Regions from separate parts of the Homo sapiens genome. Here regions 1, 2, 4, 5, 6 and 7 are each linked to region 3. Evidence: promoter capture Hi-C in 16 types of primary human blood cells and fetal thymus (Javierre and others, 2016). All regions are on one chromosome and are shown on one strand. The core of a region is centred on a gene start or on the middle of the fragment in contact, and the rest is flanking DNA. Distances in the headings are between cores, read along the strand shown.

Region 1 (2,953 bases), core at 122-2,621, 350 kb after region 3:
TATAGTACTATAAATGCTTGACTGTACATAGTACGTATAAAACCAAGTCTCACAATAATCACCTTGCAAACATGCTTACAAGCAAGAACTAGAATACCTTGACTAACTATAACACATTAAACCCACCAACCAAGAGAAATCCTTCACCACAAGCATACCAACCAGTATGCTTGGAGAACCACTACTCTCTTCAAAGCTGTCAGACAGGGACATTTAAGTCTGCAGAGGTTTCTGCTGCCTTTTGTTCAGCTATGCCCTGCCCCCAGAGGTGGAGTCTACAGAAGCAGGCAGGCCTCTTTGAGCTGCGGTGGGCTCCACCCAGTTCGAGCTTCCAGGTCACTTTGTTTACCTACTCAAGCCTCAGCAATGGCGGACGCCCCTCCCCCAGCCTCACTGCCACCTTGCAGTTTGATCTCAGACTGCTGTGCTAGCAATGACCGAGGCTCCACGGGCATGGGACCCTCCAAGCCATCTGCGGGATATAATCTCCTGGTGTGCCCTTTGCTAAGACCATTGGAAAAGCGCAGTATTAGGCGGGGAGTGATCCGATTTTCCAGGTGCCGCCTGTCACAGCTTCCCTTGGCTAGGAAAGGGAATTCCCTGACCCCTTGCACTTCCCAGGTGAGGCAATGCCTCACCTTGCTTTGGCTTATGCTCGGTGGGCTGCACCCCCTTTCCTGCACCCATTGACCAACAAGCCCCAGTGAGATGAACCCGGTACCTCAGTTGGAAATGCAGAAATTGCCCATCTTCTGCATCACTCATGCTGGGAGCTGTAGACTGGAGCTCTTCCTATTCGGCCATCTTGGAACTGCCCGAAACATGAAATATGTTAATTCTTCCCAAAGTTATTTATACATTTATTCAAGTCCAATAAAATTTCACAAGGTATACATTTATGACATTAAAAATTTTGTAAACTTCATTTTGAAGAATAAAGAGACAAACTTAGTCAAGAATATTTGGGGACAAAATGTTTTAAGAAGTTTGAAAAAGAGTAGCTAGGGAAGAACTTATGTTATAAGGTATTAAAACTTTATATAAAATTTAATATGGTGCTAAAATCAGTAGACAGATTGATGTAACAAAATACATAGGCCTGGTGTTGACTGTAATATATAAGAACCTAATATATGATGAAAGAAACATCCTAAACCAATGGGGAAAATATCTTTGAACCAGTATTTTCACTGTCTGAAATTCATTCTAAGAAGTTAGTAAAAGAGAAAGTAAAAAATTCCTGAACAAATAAATTAATCATAGCACTATTTAAAATAACAAAAGGTCAGAAAGAACTAACCCTTTTATAACAAAGCAGAGTGGTTAAATAAACTATAGCAGATCCATATTATGAAATATGCAGCAATTAAAATTATATCTTTATCAATTTTATTGATATGAGTAAATAGCTATTATAAAGTTTCAAGATACTATAGATCTAATATAATCATAAATGTACATCAGCTACATAATATGTATAAAATGACTGCAAAGATATAAACAAAAATCTTATAAATACATTTATATAAATGGAAAAAGTATGACATGTTTAAGTCTATTAAATAAAAATAACTATAAGGACGAATTACATAAGTTTATAAAATTATTAAGGGAATATATAGAAAAGTGAACACTGACTTTTCTACTAAGTCCTAGAATTAGGAAGGTCCTCCTCAAATCTTGAACATTGCACACCTAGAAAAAAAATTCAGAGCTGCTTTAAATTATGGGTATTGTAGATGCCACTGGAGATGGATTCTAGCCTTGAGAAAAGTCATTTTGGATAATTATACTGCTATATATTACCACAGTCACAAATAGTTCATAGCCACATTTCAAGTACAGATGATTCAAAAAGTTTTTAATGTAAATGGAACTTTAAAAGTTATTTTCTCCCTACTACCTTTATCTCTTTAAACACATCTGGTATCTACAGATAAGATACAAAAACAGATTCTTAATATAGTTTGGCTGGGTCCCCACCCAAATTTCATCTTGAATTGTAACTCCCACAATTCCCACATGTCTTGGGAGGATCCTGGTGGGAAGTGATTGAATTATGGGGGCGGGTCTTTCCCGTGCTGTTCTCGTGATAGTAAGTCTCACGAGATCTGATGGTTTAAAAAAAAAAAAAAAAAACAGGGGTTTGACTGCACAGGTTCTCTCTTTGCCTGCCACCATCCAAGATGTGACTTGCTCCTCCTTGCCTTCTGCCATGATTGTGAGGCCTCCCCAGCCACGTGGAACTCTGAGTCCAATGAAACCTCTTCCCTTTGTAAATTTCCCAGTCTTGGGTATGTCTTTATCAGCAGCATGAAAATGGACGAATACAATTCTATTGCCAAAATTATATTTTTATCTTTTAGAAAAATAAATGTAAATTTAGATATGCTCCTGGTTAGTAGATGCTATAAAAATTATTTGATATATTTTTTAGCATTAATTTATATGCCCCTAATCTAAATAGGGCAAATTTCATCAAATCTTCTTCAAACCAAAAGATTACATAAATAGAAAAGATTTGCATTATAATTATAGAAAAGACAGAGTTTTAAAAAATTATCTTGAACTATTATACACAGCTAAAATTTTAACTTTACCTGAACACATGGCATCACAGAATACCCTATTTTTAAATTTTGTCCCATTAAATTTGCTTTGACAGGCAAAATCCAGCCATCTCATTAAGTTTTCAGTTTTTATTAGGACCCCAAGTGTGATTTTTAAATAAAATGGTTTTAATTTAAAAAAAAAAACCAGAAAAGTGAAATTTGAACTGTACCTCTACCCTTAATCTCCATCTCAGAGAAATGATTCCACAATGTCTTTTACCTGTTAAAGAGCAATCGCCTAAAAATAAAAACATGCTTCCCCACTGCAGCCAAGAAAGCTTCTGTTCTAAGAAAAAGATGTATTTCCTTGTTTTGATGATGTTCATCTTTTGTGGCCTGTC
Region 2 (2,804 bases), core at 258-2,757, 480 kb after region 3:
TTTACCAGCTATTACATAATTCTCAATGCCCTTGTATTTGAAAAATGTTGATCCACCTCAAAGCCTTGTGGTGGTGATACATGCTCTGGGGGAAATGACTGATGAAGCGCTTTGTAAAAAAAAGCATCTCTGTACTCAGCATTTTCATTTAAGCAATTTGTCAGTCTTCACATTCAAAGGTGAAATGGGATGATTTCTGTGAAAGACATGATTTTGTCATTTTTGGTTTGCTTTAATTTATATATATATATAATGGATGGATATGTATTATATATATTATATATATAATGTGTGTGTACATGAATATACCCTCTGGTGTGAACTGAAAGTCAAGCAGAAATGTAGCATAAAGAATTTTACCATGCTTAGAAGTTATCAAAAGTAGCCATAAGATTTTGCCAAATATTGTTATAGTTTGAAATTACATTTGAATGCTAGGTTTGAAGAAGTTGTTTCACATTTCATATTAAGTCACTTTTCAACCTTACCACCATCTTCCTTTATCACACTACTTCCACTCAAATTGAATACTAAGTGAGAGGAGGACGATGGGGTTGATGTTGAACAACTTTAAAGCTTACACGTAATTTTGGAACAATGAACAGTGACAGAAGAGCCGTGTAGATCCCTGGGTTCCCTCTACACTGGCCACTGTGAACGGCATGGCATATCATGAAGACACATCCTAAAGCATGCACTTTGTTCTGTTTGCTATGGTTCAAGAACAGATTTCTAACAAAATGTGTAATTTAGAGTAAGATATGCAGATTGCATTGCTAAAATGACCTGCCAATAGTTGTAATCTTTTTTTGAGACAGGGTCTCATCTCTCTGTCACCCAGGCTGGAAGGCAGTGGCAAGATCTCGGCTCACTGCAGCCTCTGCCTCCCTGGTTCGAGAGATTCTCCCACCTCAGCCTCCCAAGTAGCTGGGATTACAGGGATGTGCCATCAAGCACAGCTAATTTTTGCATTTTTAGTAAAGACGGGGTTTCACCGTGTTGGCCAGGCTGGTCTCGAACTCCTGACCTCAGTTGATCCACCCACCTTGGCCTCCCAAAGTTCTGGGATTACAGGCATGAGCCACCATGCCCAGCCAATAGTTGTAATCTTTATGTGATGTGAGTTGTGAGATAAAGTAGCACTGTAAATTTACAAATATGTTCATCATAGCAACTGTGTTTAAAATGTGGTAAATCGTTAAATTTCAGAATGGCTTACTTTTTTTAAAAGCTAGTTTGTTTTGTAATCACAATTGCATCAGAATTTTTGATAATTGAAAGAATTGACGCCTGAGCCACTCGGGGATTAGGCCTGCACAGTCAAAAATCCGATTCTAGGTTGGGAGTTGTGGCTCACGCCTGTAATCCCAACACTTTGGGAGGCCAGGGCAGGTGGATCACAAGGTCAGGAGTTCAAGACCAGCCTGGCCAAGATGGTAAAATCCTGTCTCTACTAAAAATACAAAAATTAGCCAGGCGTGGTGGTAGGTGCCTGTAATCCCAGCTACTCGGGAGGCTGAGGCAGAGAATTGCTTGAACCCAGGAGGCAGAGGTTGCAGTGAGCCAAGATTGCACCACTGCACTCCAACCTGGGCAACAGGGTGAGACTCAGTCTCAAAAAAATAAATAAATAAATAAAACAAAAATCTGATTCTAACTTTGGACACCCCCTAAACCTAACTACCAACAGCTACTGTTGACCATAAGCCTTGTTGATAACATAAATGGCCAATTAACACATATTTTTATGTTATATGCATTACATGTGGTATTCTTACAATAAAGTAAGCTCTGGAAACAAAATGTTAAAAGAAAAACAACAGAGATAATATATGTACTATTCATTAAGTGGAAGCAGATGATGATAAAGGTCTTTATCCTCATTGTCTTCATGTTGAGTAGGCTGCAGAAGGGGAGAGGTTGGTATCACTGTTTCAAGGGGTGCCAGAGGCAGAAGAAAATCTGCACATAAGTGGACCCTCACAGTTCAAACTCCTGTTGTTCAAGGGTCAACTGTACATTTTCTGTGGAGGTATCCTTTCATACACACATGGTGTTGACCTGAAGTCATTTTGGTTTGTTAGTAAAAGGTTATGTCCATTGTGTGCAATTACTTTTTAGGACTTGTGAAACACTTTAAACTACTGCTTGTGAACTGAGCCTCACTAGATGTAATTGAGAAGCTCAGCAATCAGTCCCATCAGGATGATCTTGCACACCCATGGTGAGGGAGGACCAGGCAGCTCTTAGTGATGCTCCTGAAGCTAAGAGTAGGCTCACTGCCTAAACTAGGTAAGACTGCCCACCTACCAACAAGTGTTTGATTTATCTAATCTGAGTTATTCACACACATTTTATGACAAAAATAAAAAATGCTACTTATGCCATGGCCATTATGAATATCACTTCTAGGTCAGAGTGAATAATGAAAAGCTTTTAGATGAATAGAGATGATGTGCATAAGATTCTTACCAAACTAATGAAATCAGAATTTTGATGAATGGAATAAAATAAATAGCTAAAATGTGTTGGAAGCTTTAAGATATTACCACAAGTTTTCTTGATTGTTTTTCTATCCAATTCTAATATTGTGTTTTCAGATTATAAGGCTGAGACTATGGTGTGCAGAAATTGGTTGGTGAACGGAGATATTTGTTTAAAGTACCATAACTTTATCTAATACAATGCGGTGTGCTGAATATGGTAAAAAAAGAAGGTGGCAGGGAGTTTTCACAAGTTAGCCACTTCACACTCAACAGGCAGCTATAGATTGGGCACAGAGACTGAGTACTTGTGTGCTGTGG
Region 3 (2,766 bases), core at 224-2,723:
TAAGCTTAAATCTCCAGAAGCTGCAATGCACCTTGGATTTACTAATGAAAATATATTTTTATATTGAAGGTTCAATCAAAGTATTATTTGGTCACATAATTTTTACAATCCTTTCTAGTTTGTATCTGTTTCTCTTCATAATTCATGGATACTATGCTTCTTTGTGTTCTCAAATTCCCCAGGTTCCTGTTATTTGTTCTCTTTCATTTTAGAAATGCTGCACACACCAGGTTGCTATTACCTCACCTTCTCACTTCTGGATCTTATTTCTGAATTACCTGTCCCCCTCATTTTCACCCCTTCTTTACGGGTTTCACCTTTCACGTGATAGCTTCTGTTTTTCAGACCTCATTTTTAAAGACGGCACAACAACACTTTAATGATCAGATACTTAAACCTTTGCTTTCGTGTAAATATCTTTGCTCTTGCAGATTTTGTGCTTTGCTTTGTATGTATTAGAATAACAATATGAAAGAAAACCAGTTTTCCAAAGGTAGGAAGAATTTCCCTCTTTGAGTGACAGCTGCAGATAAATAATTAAGGTGCTTCTGGGGATGCCAATTAGAAGCAATTATCATTTGACCCGCCTTGGCTCTAAAATGCCTCGGTAATCTCCCTCTGTCACAGGAAAGTGGAGGTCTGGCTTCTGTGATTACGACGCCGATCTCTTCCAGACTTGAGAACAAGCAGTCAAAGAAATGATGCCCTTTCCGATGCTTACATCTGTCACTCACTCTTGCGTTAGCCAAGTCACACACGGTCAACCTGCAAAGTTCAACCTACGTAGCCTTGACATCGCAGGTTGCTTTAATTCCTCCAAAAATCAAGTTGTGATTTTGGTATCTCTAAAAATCAAAAATCAAATTGTTTTTATTTTCTCCTGATCTATTTTGAAAGTGCCCCCAAATACGGTTTCAGTGGCTGGGACATCGCCTGTCGCCCAGACGCTGCCGTTCGCGCGTCCAACTGTGACAGCCAGGACCCTCCCTCGCCAACTCCTGCGCTCTGCCTTTCAGTGGCGTCTCCCATCCTGGCTACTCCACCCCTACGGTGAAAATCCACATCCCTTGCCCCATCCCAACTCACGCTCTGCGAGCGCCCACCACTCAAACTTTCTCAGGCCAAACTTTCCCTCTCTACCTAGATGCTGCGGAGACCAGCCTCGGGATTTCCAGGGAGCCACGCATTCACAAAGCTACCCCAAGCTCCCGAGCTGCGGGCCGCTCCCGCGGAGCCCGCGCTCACCCCGAGTAATTGTTCTCGCTCCCCACGTCGATGGTCTCGTCCATGTCGCTCTCGGAGGTCGTCTCCTCGCAGGGGCGCTTCATCCCGGCGAAGACCGCGCGGGGCACAGCCCGGCCGGAAGCTCGGACGCCGAGCGGGGCGCAGCACCCTGACGCCCGCCTCCTCCCTCCCCGGGCCTGGGCAGGCGCGGCTCCGGCGGCGGCGCGGTCTGCTCCTAGCGGCTCTTTCCCACGCCGCAACTCTGCTCGGCCGCAAGAGCCGGCGCCGGCCACGCCCCCCCCTCGAGCGGGTGGGGCCACCTCACCCGCCCCCGCGCACCGGCCCAGGCCTTCCGCCCGGCACCTCCCCCTCGCTGGTCGGCGTGGCTCGCGATTGGCTGGGCCAGGGGGCGGGGCCGCGCTCGCCAATGCCCGCCGCAAGGCTCCAGCCGAGGCGTGGGAACGCGGCCGCGGACCTGGTACCCCAGAGCAGCGAGCGGGTGGGGAGCAGCCGGGGCGAGAATGAGCGCAATCTTGCTAACCCCTGCGGAGGGAGCGCGCGGGCGCCAACGCGGGCGCGCGGGGGCGGGCCCTGGACCTGGACCTTGGGTTTCGGCCCTCCTCCGCGCCCCGCGGTCTCGCGGGCGAAGTTTCAGTCCTGAGTGTAAAGAATAACCCCAAGCGCGTGGCTAAGTGCGAGCAGGCGCGTGTGACGTCGGGAGGCGCCGCGGCTCCTCGGCCGCCCCACTCGGTGGTCCCCTGTCTGGATCCAAACTGCTGACTGGCTGACCCGAGTGGTCACATTTGCCCTCTGGGGCTTTTGAAAACCTTAAATCAAAATTGCTTTTGAATCTGACAACTCCTGAGGCTACTTTCGCGGCCTCGGGGCTGTTTCATATAAGGACGCGAGTTTTCCTGATCAGGTCTGTCGGCCACGTTACGATTTCCAATTTGCGATCCATCAGTTACTTCCATTGGGTCTTCAGCCCCCAGGGACTGTGGATCCTAGACCCCGCGGAGAAGCCCGTGGACTGGAGCTGTGTCAGCTCTGATGGTAGGAAAGACTAGATCAATGACGCGGGCATTTCAGGACATAATCGTATATTTTCAAGTTCGAGTTTTTCGGGCTTGGATTATCCAGATAATTGCCTCCAGTCTCCTCCAGTCCCCCTGGTGTATGCACTCGCAGCCGCAGAGTTAGAGTCCGGGAGGTGAAGATTGGCGCTTGGAAATTAGATTTGGTTTCTAAAGTATGAATTCGTGTCCAACAGTTCGTGCCTTGGACAACGTGGGTTGTATAAAACTCAAGCTGTGTGTTTAAAACAGGTTTTCTAGCTGCTGGTTCTCTCCAAGTTATGTAGGACTTTTGAACTGGCCACCCCGCTGTGCGTCTGCGAGGGCAGGGACTGAGCGAGACCCAGCCAGGGGCGCCGGGAGACTGGCGGCGGCTGGGTTGGGGTCCAGCCGGAAACCACACGTTGGCAGGGCCGCTTGGTCAGTAGTGGAGAGAGCCTCTGAGAAAGGGCCGTCTATCGATCCCCAG
Region 4 (2,976 bases), core at 188-2,687, 390 kb after region 3:
TGCCTTTTCGCTATTCAAACTTCTTGCTTCAGTCAAAATAACTACCAAAAATTCCCTGAAAATGCCTCATCATTTTTCTGCCTTTGTGCCATGTGATTCATAAGACACTTTTCACCTGTCTATTGAAATTGTATCCATCCTTCGAAGTCCAGGCCAAGTGTCCCTTTAACTATGAATATATTCCCAGTCTCTCAGAGAAAAAGTTACATTTCTTCCCTAGAAATACCTAACACTTGCTTACATGAGTTAGGTATTTCTAGGGAAATTATTTCACATAGTTAATAATTTGTCCATATATCTTATCTGTCCACATCTCCTCTGACATACCCTGAAAAAGGTGGATGAAATGATTAGCTGCTTGCTTAATTGATGCAGCCTTGAAAATACTCATAAAGTGCCCATGAAATGCCCAATAATGTTTGAAACTATTTGTTTATGAATGAGGTACTTAAAGCAAACTAGGGCACATTTTAAAGTGTCAAAGTAATAATCACATCTGTTCCCCAGCTCCTCTCAGTGTTTTCCTTGGCTTTCTTCCTGCCACACCTACTTTTGACCAAGGGCATGCATTTGCGTAGTCCGTAGCCATGGAAGGACTAAGGAGATCAGCTAATATTGGAATACTGGGCTTAGTGGTGCTAGGCAGAAGACAAATGAACCAACCAAACACAAGTAACAAGGGTTTATGGTATGGTCTATAAGCAAAAACATTTAAATCTCAAAGTAGAACCATTTAAGAATACTGAAAAACCTCTTCAGCGATTAGATTTTATTTAATACAAGCAAAGTAAAAAACACGAATGCCTCAATATGAAATGGCTGAAAAAAATTTCCAAAGATTGATGTTCTCCCAGAAATGATTTTTTGAGCTTAATTTGCTTACCTGAACTTTGAGATAAGACAAAATCTAAAGGTCTCTCTTCAAAATGTGTTGTAACCAGAAAGCTCTGCAAACCCATGTGGAACTAAATAGTAGTATTTCTGAGGTTAGGCTGTCTGTGTGCTTTCTGGGCTAGAAGGTCAAACTTGAGTGATATGTGAAGGAGAGAGGAAGAAGCAGTATTGCGCAGTGGTCACAGTGATAACCGTGGTCTCAGGGTCAAAGGCGATGGGAATGCTGCATAGAGAGGGGAGCTGTAAGTAAGGCTTTGCAGAAGAGGAATGAGTGGTTTGACTAAAACAAATAGAGAAATATGCTCTGAGGGCATATCAGGTAGGTTTGCACTGCTAGAGATGAAGGCATGGCCTTGGGTGTGGGAAGAGATAAGAGAAATTAAGTAGAGTGGAGTCTTTGAAAAATATTAGAATGGACACTTGGTTATTTTAATTTTACTGGAGCAGTAAGTAATAATAAAGCTTTCTGTAAAAAGACCTAATCACATTCAGCCACAGTACAGGCCCCATCCATTGATGAGCATTACCAAAAGTGTATGAAGAGATAGGTGAACTAAACAGATATGCTAAAATTTAAGGAGATACCCCTGTTCTTTGGAAACATGGAATTTTGTTTGAAGCTTTTATTAGAAAAAAATCCAATTTCAGTAAAATCAAATGTCAGAGCATTATAGAAAATATCTTCATTTTATGCCCCAGGATTGCTGCTGTTAACAGGTGCGGGTACCTCCAAAGAGTTCTTCTGCATAAGCAAAGATATATATGTCTATACCATTTGCATGCAAATAGAATCATGCTACCCATACTTCTCTGAAACTTGCTTTCATGCTTTTAAAATATGAGAACAACTTTGTAAACTTATACATAACAAATTTGCTGTCATTAAAGAAATGATAAAATGAAATTGTATTGAATGAATACACTATAGTTCATTTAATTGCAGATTAAGGTGGTACTTTTCTAGGTTTTGCTTTCCCACGTTAGGAAAACAATTACGATTTGTATGTTCTTTTCAGTAATATCCATCAAAAACTACAATAAAAATAGGGCTTCATTCCTCTTAGAGGTTTTATTTTTTTCTTTCTTGAATAAAAAATAAAAAGAATATAAAAATACATTTGAAGAACAATTTAGACTAGTGCTAAGCAGGTAAACATCAGTAGACATAAATAAGTTTATAATTTTTTAAAGCTAATTGACTTAGGAAAAGCTGATTTAAAAGTGGTAAGACCACTCCAGGATACACAAACATTCAAAATGTGTGAACTAATGGTGAGAAATTGTCATTTTTAACCAGTGAGTTTTCAAACAATTTACTGGGAGGCACAGACAAAATTTGAAAGAAACTTATAAAAACCTAATTATATAAGCTAAGCAGATGTAGCTGTCTGAAAATTAGTAGTGCTTTGCTTTATCAAAATTCTTTAAAAAGCATGGAAGATTAAGAACTGTCCCAGCAGTCACAAAAATGATCAAAACACCCTATAATTTTTATTAATAACACAAGATCAACATAATACTTACTGGGGAAAATTATAAGTATGTGGAAAAACAGAAATTAGAATTATTAAATTTGACTAGCTTATCAGTTTACCAGCTGTGAAGTATCTCCTCGAGTCAGAATATCTCAGTGCGGTTACCACATGTACTGATTACAACTGGTACAGAGAAAACCTGACATACATCCCACTTACTAGTGTTCTGGAGTAACAAACCAGATGGTGAGCATAGTTGATATCTCAGTTGTCCCAAAAGATGTAAATGTACAACCTGGTACTGCTAGAATAGGAGATAGGGGTGTGTACCATAAGGAAGCAAGGAGAGAGATATGATAAATTGATTCTTCTTCTTTTTATTTTTTATCTTCTTCTTTTTCTCCCCCTCCTGTTCTCCCTCCCTCTTCTCCCTCTCTCTTCTCCTCTTTCTCCTCCTCTTCCTCCTTCTACTCCTCCTTCTTCTTCTTCTTCCTCTTCTTTCTCTCACCCCCTCTCTCTCTCCCTTTGGAGAATAAGAGTATATATGAATTGTTCACTGCTTTTTTTTTTCTTTTGAGTCAGAGTCTCTGTCTGTCACCCAGGTTGG
Region 5 (2,962 bases), core at 222-2,721, 500 kb after region 3:
ATTATACCCTATGAAATCAGCTATGTAGGAACTGCCCTTTTTCCTCTACCCCTTCCATCTCCCACAAGTCATCCAGTCCTAAGTATGATCTCAGGCTCTAGTGAATATTTTCAAATATGTGCCTTGGTCTTCCCTAGGACAGAAATAACTTTATTAATGTGGTATTCTTTTTGTGAGCAGAATGGAATCTGTCTATAATATTGTTAGCATTATATGTTATTTATTAACACAATGTTTTTTTAGGAAGTATAAAAACATACATTAACTAGATCATAAAACCAAATGTTCATTTACTGAACAGACATTTCCTATCAAAAATGAAAAGACCAAGCAGAATAAGGGTCAAGGAAGAATCTGGTGACTAGGGGGTAATTTGTGTCTCTGGAGAGGACTGTGTGAGGAGAACAAGGAATGTGGATGCCAGATGGCACTGGGTCAAACAGCAAATGAGACAAGATGAAAGAAATGAACAGCTTTTAGGAAGTTTGCTTAATTTCTTTTTTTCTCTGAAGGTCCAAAAAATGTCAGCTCATTCAAATTAAATTTTATTTTTACATTTTGCTACATGATTTTAGCTTTTAATTTTGGAAAAACATTTTTTGACTACATGAAACCATGGAATTTCAGGCAGTTTATACATGAAATCAAATATTATTATCAAGGAGACAGGCAGAAGATGGCAGATAGGAGACAGGGCTAATGTGCATCTTGCACTTGCTCAGACAGAATAGTGTGTGGAGACTCACATCATGAACTTTTGTTCCAAGAACCACCATAGGAACTTACCAGGAACACCGAAAGAATTCACAGATCCTTTGAAAGGAGTGGCACACCACTGCAAATTCTGAGAGACGGGTGAAAAACTGAGTTCCTAGAGTGCGAGAGGAGAGAAAACCTGCCTCTGAACCCACTGCCTCTGAACCACCTGCCTCTGAATTCCACTAGGGAATCTGAAAATCCAGATCACAGGAGAGGGATTTAACCTAAATTAGAGCTGGAATGGATTCAGGGATCTGGGTGAAATACAATAGTAGCAGCAATGGGAAAAGCCTTATAGGCACTCCCAGTTTCTCTAGCTTGAGCCCAGGGAAGGTATATAACTGTATCTCACAGAGCGCCTCCAGGAAGGCAGCCAGTGGAATTAGGGAGGGGTCATGGGGTGAAAGAAGCTTCCAACTGAATTTTATAATAATTGCCACTGGGCGTGAACTTTCTTAAGCAGAATCTGGGGGGTGAGTGGAAACTGCTGCAGATATGAGGGCAGGAGCTACCAACACTGTGGGCAGACAGGTAGGGGCGAGGCCTGAAAGCTGTGCTTGCTTTCTCAGCAGGGAAGCCTATGGCCTGGGGCAGGTCTGAGTTCATTGTGCACAGGCTGCCTGGATGGAAACTCGGCTCTATTAGCAGAGCACTGCAGGAGTGAGACTGGCCTCGCCAACTGCGTGGGAGCTGGGTGGGGCCTTTTGCTACCAGGTATCCCCCACTTCCTTGATAAACTATATGACACAGCAGAGGCAGCCATAATCCCCTTTGGAAGGTAACCTCACTGGCCTGAGAACCACACCCCCCAACCCCCACAGTGGCTGCAGCAAGCCCTACCCAAGGAGAGTCTGACCCGCCCAAGGAGAGTCTATCCCTGCCCCCACTTGATGGTATTTCTCTACCTGCCGTGGTAGCAGAACACAGAAGACATAAACTCTTGAGAGCTTTATGGACCCACCTATTGCCTGAGAAACCAGAATACCTCCCTTGGACAATTTAGTGCAAGCTTAAATCCCACTGTTACTACTGCAGCTGGTGCCTTCTTGAAAACACCACCTCCTGGCTGGAGGCAGACCAACTCAGGCCATTACTGCAACTCATGACAGAATAACCCTGATCCCAGGAAGAAGAAAAGAACAGCTAATACTGCTGCCTGTAACATCCTGGCTAACCAGAGGTCCTGAGTCTGTCCACATGACGACTTCACTGCTAGCATAACCAGCATCTGAGAAAGCCGGCACGTTAAACCCAAGGATTCTCATAGAGTCTACTTCACTCCCCTGCCACCTCCACCAGAGCAAGTACTGGTATCCACAGCTGGGAGACCTGAAGACTGGTCATATCACAGGACTTTTTGCAGACATTTGCCAGCACCAGCCTGGAGCCTGGTAGTCCTGCTGGGTGGTTAGACTAAGAAGAGAAATAACAATCACTGCAGTCCAGCTCTCAGGATGTCCCATTTCTAAGGGAAGGGGGCGAGCACTACATCAAAGGATCACCCTATGGTACAAAAGAATGTGAACAGCAGGCCTTGAGTTCCAAATCTTTCCAGTGGTGGGAAGTTTCTCATAGCAGAGACACAATTGCAGTGCTGGGCACAGTAGGGAAAGTCTGTACCTCTACCCCAAACGGCAGGCATCCCCTGTGATTGTGTAGGACCTTAAAGAAGGGGTCCTTGTTTCCCCTGGCACTCTACTGCAGACACAGTTGGGCTTCCCCCAGAAGAATGGAGGCACCTATAGACAGCCTTTCTGGAACAATCCAGGGTGAGTGCAGCCCCACAGGAGGAACACACTCCAGATTCAAGCCTGCATGAGAGGCAAAGTCACAATTCTTCCCTACTTGGAACATCAACATTTCCATAGATGAAAAGAGGTGCCTGTCTTATCCGAATAGCCAGAACACTGGGACAGGAATAAGGCTGTGAGGTGAGTAGCTTTCCTGCTGACCTGGCAGGAGAGCTGAGGTAGCTCCCACTCCTCACCTTGATGAAACCTCAGCACATCTAATTGAGAGGTCCTCCAGCCAACTTCATCAAGGCTGGGACCTCAGCCCACCATTGGGTATTACATCTACCCACCTGCCTTAGCCACAACCAGTGCCTAACCAGGGATACCTCTCCTAATGGCCTAAAGTCAACTCAGTAAATAAAACAGTGGGAAAAAAGTTAAATAAATAAATAAAGGGTACACCATGAGAG
Region 6 (2,700 bases), core at 156-2,655, 370 kb after region 3:
AATAATGGTGCCTTCTTATCACGGTAGGCAGTGCGTCAGTCTCATAAACTAATACAACATTTTGCTCTACAATACATTTGAGGTGTTTTCTACATCAAGAATTTGCCTCACACTGACAAAATAATTGTGCAACATATATTCGTTGAAAAGCTATAAAAGACAGGACACTGGGCTGGGCTTTATGAGAGCACAACAAAAATGAAATTAGAAAAGTTGGGGAGAAATATTTTTTAAAACTTTCCCTCCAATTCCCATCTCTCCCGTGAAATATGTTGGAAAAATATTTTTCTTCCTTGCTTATATGGCACCCGAACTGTCAATCTCTGAATACCAAAAATTAAAAATTTCTGGAAAAAAATCATTTTATATAACCTACTTTTGTTCTTCAAACTAAAAAAATCATTTTAGATTTGCTTTAAAACTACTAAAACTTATATTTTGTATATATTCCAACTTTCTTAAATGGTCAAGGATCTTAAAACATTTATTTCCTGCTTCTAGAATTTCAAAAAATCTTATCTTACTCTTAGACTTACTCAATATGCACATATATGAGAGCATTTAAAGCAAGTAATATCTGACAAATTAGTGATGTTTTAGAGCATCTCCAGTTCACTACCTTTTACTCCAAGAATGTCAAGTTCTTGAGAGAAGAAATTTTCATCTGTTTTGTTCACTACTATATCTCCAAGGCCTGGGACAGTGAATGCACAGCACATAGTAGGTGCTCAGTAAATTATGTGTTAATCGAAGGGATGACTGCACACTTTGGGAGAACGGGGTTGGGATTTTGCTAACATTTTTACTCTCACTATCCTGCCATCATGTGTAGATGAATGTGGAGTAGATACTCTTTCCTGCTGATATAATGATTCCAACTTTCAACTCCTGTAAAAGAATTATATTTTGCTTTAAATAGAAATAAATGTGAAAATATTCTCAAAGGCCTGAACTCAAAAGGAAGAAAAAAACCCTTTCCCAACCTGTTATTTACCTTAATCTTCTTTAGAGTGAGTCTTTGCGATCCTCAGTCCCTTAAGCACTTTCTAAAGATGAACTAGATCAGATTCAGGAAGATGAAAGGAAGTCAAAGCCTCAGATTAAAAAACTAGCTAACGCCCAAATAGTGGCGCTGGGCTGCAGTGTGTGCACGCAGGATAACAGCAAGTTACTCTTAAGAAGCTAAAAGACATTTGCTTGTTGGGTCTTATTGTGGCTTTCTTTCCTCCTTTGTTCCTTCCCTCTCCTCCCCTACTTTTCTTTCATCCCCCCTTCTTTCCTCCCTCTTTTCAGTCTTTCATCCTGATCTCAGGGCTTTCTAAGAAAATTGGAACCTTTTGGGCAGGGCATTTCTTCCCATATGTTATATTCCACTGTAAGACACACACATAGAAATCAGTACTGGATTACTTTTCTCTGGAATTTACTTCTAGAAAAGAAGAATGATTTTTTTGTTAAATGGCTAATGTCAGGATTTTTTTTCTCCAAAAACAACTTTCAATTTTTATCTTTAGATTGGTACACACTTAGGGCAAAAATCTATCCTTTCCTTTCTTCTATAACCATATCCACACTTCCTGAACAGTAAGAATTAGTTTTCATAATTTGGAAATACAAATTTATATATTTCTTCAACAGTTTACAAAGATCCCATTTTAATCCTCACAATAACCCTATACAATTATAACTCAATACAAGGAAAGAAAATATTATTACTACCCCATAGGGAAGTCCCTGCATTTCGCTCATAAATAAGCAAAAAACATCTTGAAAATCACATCTGATGTTTGTTGAAATTTCTGAGGCAGTTAGATGTGGGTATGAACCAGGGAATGTGTTTTCTTTGAATTCCGTAGCTCTTCTACTCATTTCTTTATATTCTTTTTATTTCTTAACCATATGTTTTTGTACTGTATTAATGAAAAACTGTGGGATCCCTTGCTGGGGGGATTAGACTTGAGGGAACTTGTTCTGTGTTTAGGGAGGGAGAGGGAGTGCTTTCTGCCTCATCTTTCTATTGTGCCCATCACGTTTCTTGGTGCCAATTCTGGGGAGGGTATGAATTGGTCATAATTGATTCTATTATAACAAGAACATGCTTTCTTTAGTACCAATACTATTTTTATTTGTTTAAATGTAGCAAGGTTTATGTTATTTGATCACGTTAAATTAAATGAAAATTATTATGCCTTGAGAAACAAATTTTAGCAAAATGTATAGAAGTTATTTCTAAATTCTTTAAATATAAAATGTTAATGAGAATCCACTCAGTGCTGAGACACAAGGGGAGTACTTAAATGAGGTTGAAAAACTTTCAGTTCTTTTTGGAGGGTTATGATTTTATTTAAATTCTTGTGATCCCTCAAGTAGCTCCTTCTGCTGTTCTTCCCTATTTTTCTCTGTCCTTACCTCTCCTCTTCAGGGTAATTTGAGAAGGCGAGTAAAGGAAAAGAAACATTATTCTAATTCTCCACTAAAATTCCATCCACATTTCGCTCCCTACTAATCTCCCAAAGAGAACAGCGTTAGCTCAGTCCCTGTTTTCACCAAGACATCTCTATGATGCTATCTGACCTCTTGCTTTCCAGATGTCATTGGAAGTGAAACCATATGTGGTTTTCTAATGACTCAGATTCAGCCCCTCTTCCATGAGAAGTCAGCCTGAGCAGCATGGGGGCCCGTATCCCTCATAAGAAAAGG
Region 7 (2,788 bases), core at 105-2,604, 340 kb after region 3:
CTGTCTTATTTATGTATAGGAGTTTTGTTTTTGTTTTTGTTTTTGTTTTTAGGACAAAGCTACCAATTTTTAACCCATTTATTCATTTGTTTTTAAAACAAATATCAAGTACCTGAGTATTACTCTTAGTTAAATTCAGAAAAGAAAACTGAGATTTCTGTTTCATATACACCTTATACACACAACCTGAAGGTAATTTTATACAATATTTTAAATAATTTTGTGCAGAAAACAAAATTTTGACTGTGTTTTGACTGTGAGCCATGATAGAAGATCAGGTGTAAAATTTTTCACTTTTGGCGTCACGTCAGTGCTCAAAAATTCTTGGATTTTGGAGCATTTTGAATTCAGATTTTCAGAACAGAAATGCTCAACTTGTGTAAGAGAGAGCAAGCTTACTTTTATATACTTGTATTTCTTTCTGTTAATGTCTTATTCGTGTTCTTTGTTCATTTTTAAATCATTTTTGTTGCTCTTGATTTATAATAGCTCTTTGTATATTAAGAAAATTAGCCCCCATCTGTCATATGCATCTTAAATATTTCCTATCTGTTCTGTGATTTTCATATTCTTATTTCTTATTTATTTTATACGTTATAGAACTTTAATATTATTATCCAGTCAGATTTGTCTTTTTTTTCATTTTGGATTCTTGGTTTTATGTCATCTTTAGGAAATCCTTCTCCATTTCATGATGATTTTGAAAAATCTAGTGCTTTTGTATTTTTAGTGCCTCTTTACATACGTGCATACATAAAATTATTATTTCTCACCACTGCAAGTGAAGTGTAACAAAAGCATGAAATGGTCAAAACTTGAAGGCAAGCACTGGCTCCGACACTTTGCTGTTTCATCAAGCTCTAGTCTTCAAGCTGTTGTCCTCTCTACAAAATGTAGATCAAGATAAACATTTCACAAGGACTTCATGGGGCTTAAATTATATTTGCAAATAAAAGAAATTTATAAACAAAAAAAATCGTACGATAGCTAACTATAAGCAATACTTAATAATTGAAATTAGTAATTGTTTATGCTATGGACTGAATGTGTCTCCCTCAAATTCTCGAGCTGAACTTCTAACTCGCAGCATGATGGTATTAAGAGCGGGGGCCTTTGGGAGGTAATAAGGTTTAGATGAGGTCATGAGGGCTAGAGCCTCCACGATGGGATTAATACCCTTCTAAGAAGAGGAACAAACACCAGAGCTTCCTCTCTGTGCCATGTTAGGATACAGTAAGAAGGTAACCATTTGCAAGATTAGAAGCAGGCCATTACCAAAACCCAACCATGCTAGACCCGGATCTTATGCTTCAGTCTTCAGAACTATGAGAAATAAATGTCAGTTGTTTGAGTTACCCAGACTTTGATATAGCAGCCTAAGCAGACTAATACAATATACTTGAATTTAATAATTTGATTAAAAGTTTCCAAGGACATATTAACGTGCGAAGGCAGGTCTAGTGTAGGAGTTTGAAATACATTACTCACTAGTGGAGAATGCCTATCCCTGGTCCTGTTGCTATTGACTCTGCATGTCATACATAGAGTCTGCTTAGATTCAGGATGATGAAGAAAGGAACATTTATACTTTTACTTATGATATGCCACTAGAATACACTTCATGTCAACACGAGGCAAATTAACCAAGAGATCAGACTCCAAATTCTGGAAATAATCATCAAAAGCTAAATGGTTTGCTTCCAATTCAACACTTCAAAGATGAGCAAATTAGTAAGCCGAAATAAAAGTTTAAAAACCTCATCAGCGTAGATGAAAGAGAATTTTCCAAGATTTTGAAAAATTTAACCGGGTTCAGCTGACTTAAAGATTTTCATGACGTTTTCTTTTATTCAATTAAACCAAATACATGACCATCTTTGATGCGTTAATGTTTTGGAGGTATCCTCCAGCTCCAATACAGTCTTATTGTCATTATGAAGTAAGAGTTTCTGGGTCTTTTAACATAATTAAAAAGATGGGCTCCAGGCTCTGTCTTGGAATATAAAAGCTCATCTCATGGTACTGGGTGTATTCTTGCATTTTAAGTAAGATCTAGTTGGTTCCTTCTCCAAACTTGAGGAGAAAACGTAAGTTCTATGGTCATAAAAATAAAATTTGGTTCAATTTTTCCCTTTCCATCTAGGCTGCCCTAGAGAATGATCTGGACAGTCCAGCAACTGAGCTTGCAGATGTGGCAGCCAAAAGCAGCCTTTTGGACATCTGCATGAGATGCTGGCCTTCATGGCAGCAGAAGGCCATGAGGAGTCTTGAGCAGCAGAGGCACTTTCCCACTTTCAACCTCCTTTAAGCTTTAGTATTATTGGTCTGTGTGGCCCCAGGAAGAGCTATTTCTTCTCATGAAAGGAGGACACAGTCTCTTTTCCTTTCCTCTTCTCTGCTGTTGCCCTTGCCTGCCTTGTTTTTCTGGTACTGGGAAGTGCCCGGCTCCTCCCTTCCTCCTGGGAGGAAACAAAGTCAATTTCAAAATGACATAGTTATCTATCATTTTCTCCAAAGAACATAAAGCATATTTCTATGAAATTTCTTGTTGAATAGCTCTTGGAAACATAGATGACAAATACTAAGTTTTCAAACACGAAAAGTTCTAGCAAAAGGCTATCCAGGGACTTTCTGTAAGAGAAGAGTTTCAGAGCTATTTACTGAGAGGTGTGAATGCTTTCCTATATCACATCCCATTTACAAAATTTCTGCAATGGTAGTCTCTCTGTTCCTGTACATACAAATAAGCCAGAATACTTTTACAAATTAAAAACTGGGGTAGTAAACA

Evidence for each region. Contacts are between HindIII fragments. The CHiCAGO score rates a contact against its expected background, and 5 or more counts as called.
Region 1: a contact is called between a fragment that was not itself captured here and the fragment with the promoter of HEY2 in region 3, in 4 of 17 cell types (megakaryocytes, naive B cells, total B cells and 1 more). The highest score is 13.8, in megakaryocytes.
Region 2: a fragment that was not itself captured here is called in contact with the fragment with the promoter of HEY2 in region 3 in 12 of 17 cell types (non-activated CD4 T cells, fetal thymus, total B cells and 9 more); the score reaches 10.7 in non-activated CD4 T cells.
Region 4: a fragment that was not itself captured here is called in contact with the fragment with the promoter of HEY2 in region 3 in 15 of 17 cell types (total B cells, naive B cells, megakaryocytes and 12 more); the score reaches 34.3 in total B cells.
Region 5: a contact is called between a fragment that was not itself captured here and the fragment with the promoter of HEY2 in region 3, in 1 of 17 cell types (total CD4 T cells). The highest score is 5.6, in total CD4 T cells.
Region 6: a fragment that was not itself captured here is called in contact with the fragment with the promoter of HEY2 in region 3 in 7 of 17 cell types (naive B cells, total B cells, megakaryocytes and 4 more); the score reaches 9.6 in naive B cells.
Region 7: a contact is called between a fragment that was not itself captured here and the fragment with the promoter of HEY2 in region 3, in 4 of 17 cell types (total B cells, naive B cells, endothelial precursors and 1 more). The highest score is 7.8, in total B cells.

Annotation. Positions count from the first base shown.
Region 1 is chr6:125,393,781-125,396,733 of GRCh38, reverse strand. The region is part of intron 1 of LOC102723341 (a long non-coding RNA gene); the gene reads left to right. Among named protein-coding and RNA genes, the nearest start is that of HDDC2, 93 kb to the right of the region's middle. The HindIII fragment of the contact is 3,042 bases long and covers 1-2,892 here.
Region 2 is chr6:125,264,670-125,267,473 of GRCh38, reverse strand. No RefSeq gene overlaps it. Among named protein-coding and RNA genes, the nearest start is that of HDDC2, 36 kb to the left of the region's middle. The HindIII fragment of the contact is 1,857 bases long and covers 579-2,435 here.
Region 3 is chr6:125,748,339-125,751,104 of GRCh38, reverse strand. It overlaps HEY2 (hes related family bHLH transcription factor with YRPW motif 2), which reads right to left and starts at 1,473. Exons shown (of 5, transcript NM_012259.3): 1 at 1,246-1,473. The coding sequence starts at 1,328. HEY2-AS1 (HEY2 antisense RNA 1) reads left to right here and starts at 1,680. Exons shown (of 5, transcript NR_183491.1): 1 at 1,680-2,146. RefSeq lists a silencer at 1,255-1,964. The HindIII fragment of the contact is 5,509 bases long and covers 7-2,766 here.
Region 4 is chr6:125,359,573-125,362,548 of GRCh38, reverse strand. No RefSeq gene overlaps it. Among named protein-coding and RNA genes, the nearest start is that of HDDC2, 59 kb to the right of the region's middle. The HindIII fragment of the contact is 158 bases long and covers 1,359-1,516 here.
Region 5 is chr6:125,244,210-125,247,171 of GRCh38, reverse strand. The region is part of intron 3 of TPD52L1 (TPD52 like 1); the gene reads right to left. Among named protein-coding and RNA genes, the nearest start is that of HDDC2, 56 kb to the left of the region's middle. The HindIII fragment of the contact is 599 bases long and covers 1,172-1,770 here.
Region 6 is chr6:125,377,837-125,380,536 of GRCh38, reverse strand. The region is part of intron 1 of LOC102723341 (a long non-coding RNA gene); the gene reads left to right. Among named protein-coding and RNA genes, the nearest start is that of HDDC2, 77 kb to the right of the region's middle. The HindIII fragment of the contact is 2,970 bases long and covers 1-2,700 here.
Region 7 is chr6:125,411,646-125,414,433 of GRCh38, reverse strand. The region is part of intron 1 of LOC102723341 (a long non-coding RNA gene); the gene reads left to right. Among named protein-coding and RNA genes, the nearest start is that of HDDC2, 110 kb to the right of the region's middle. The HindIII fragment of the contact is 1,915 bases long and covers 397-2,311 here.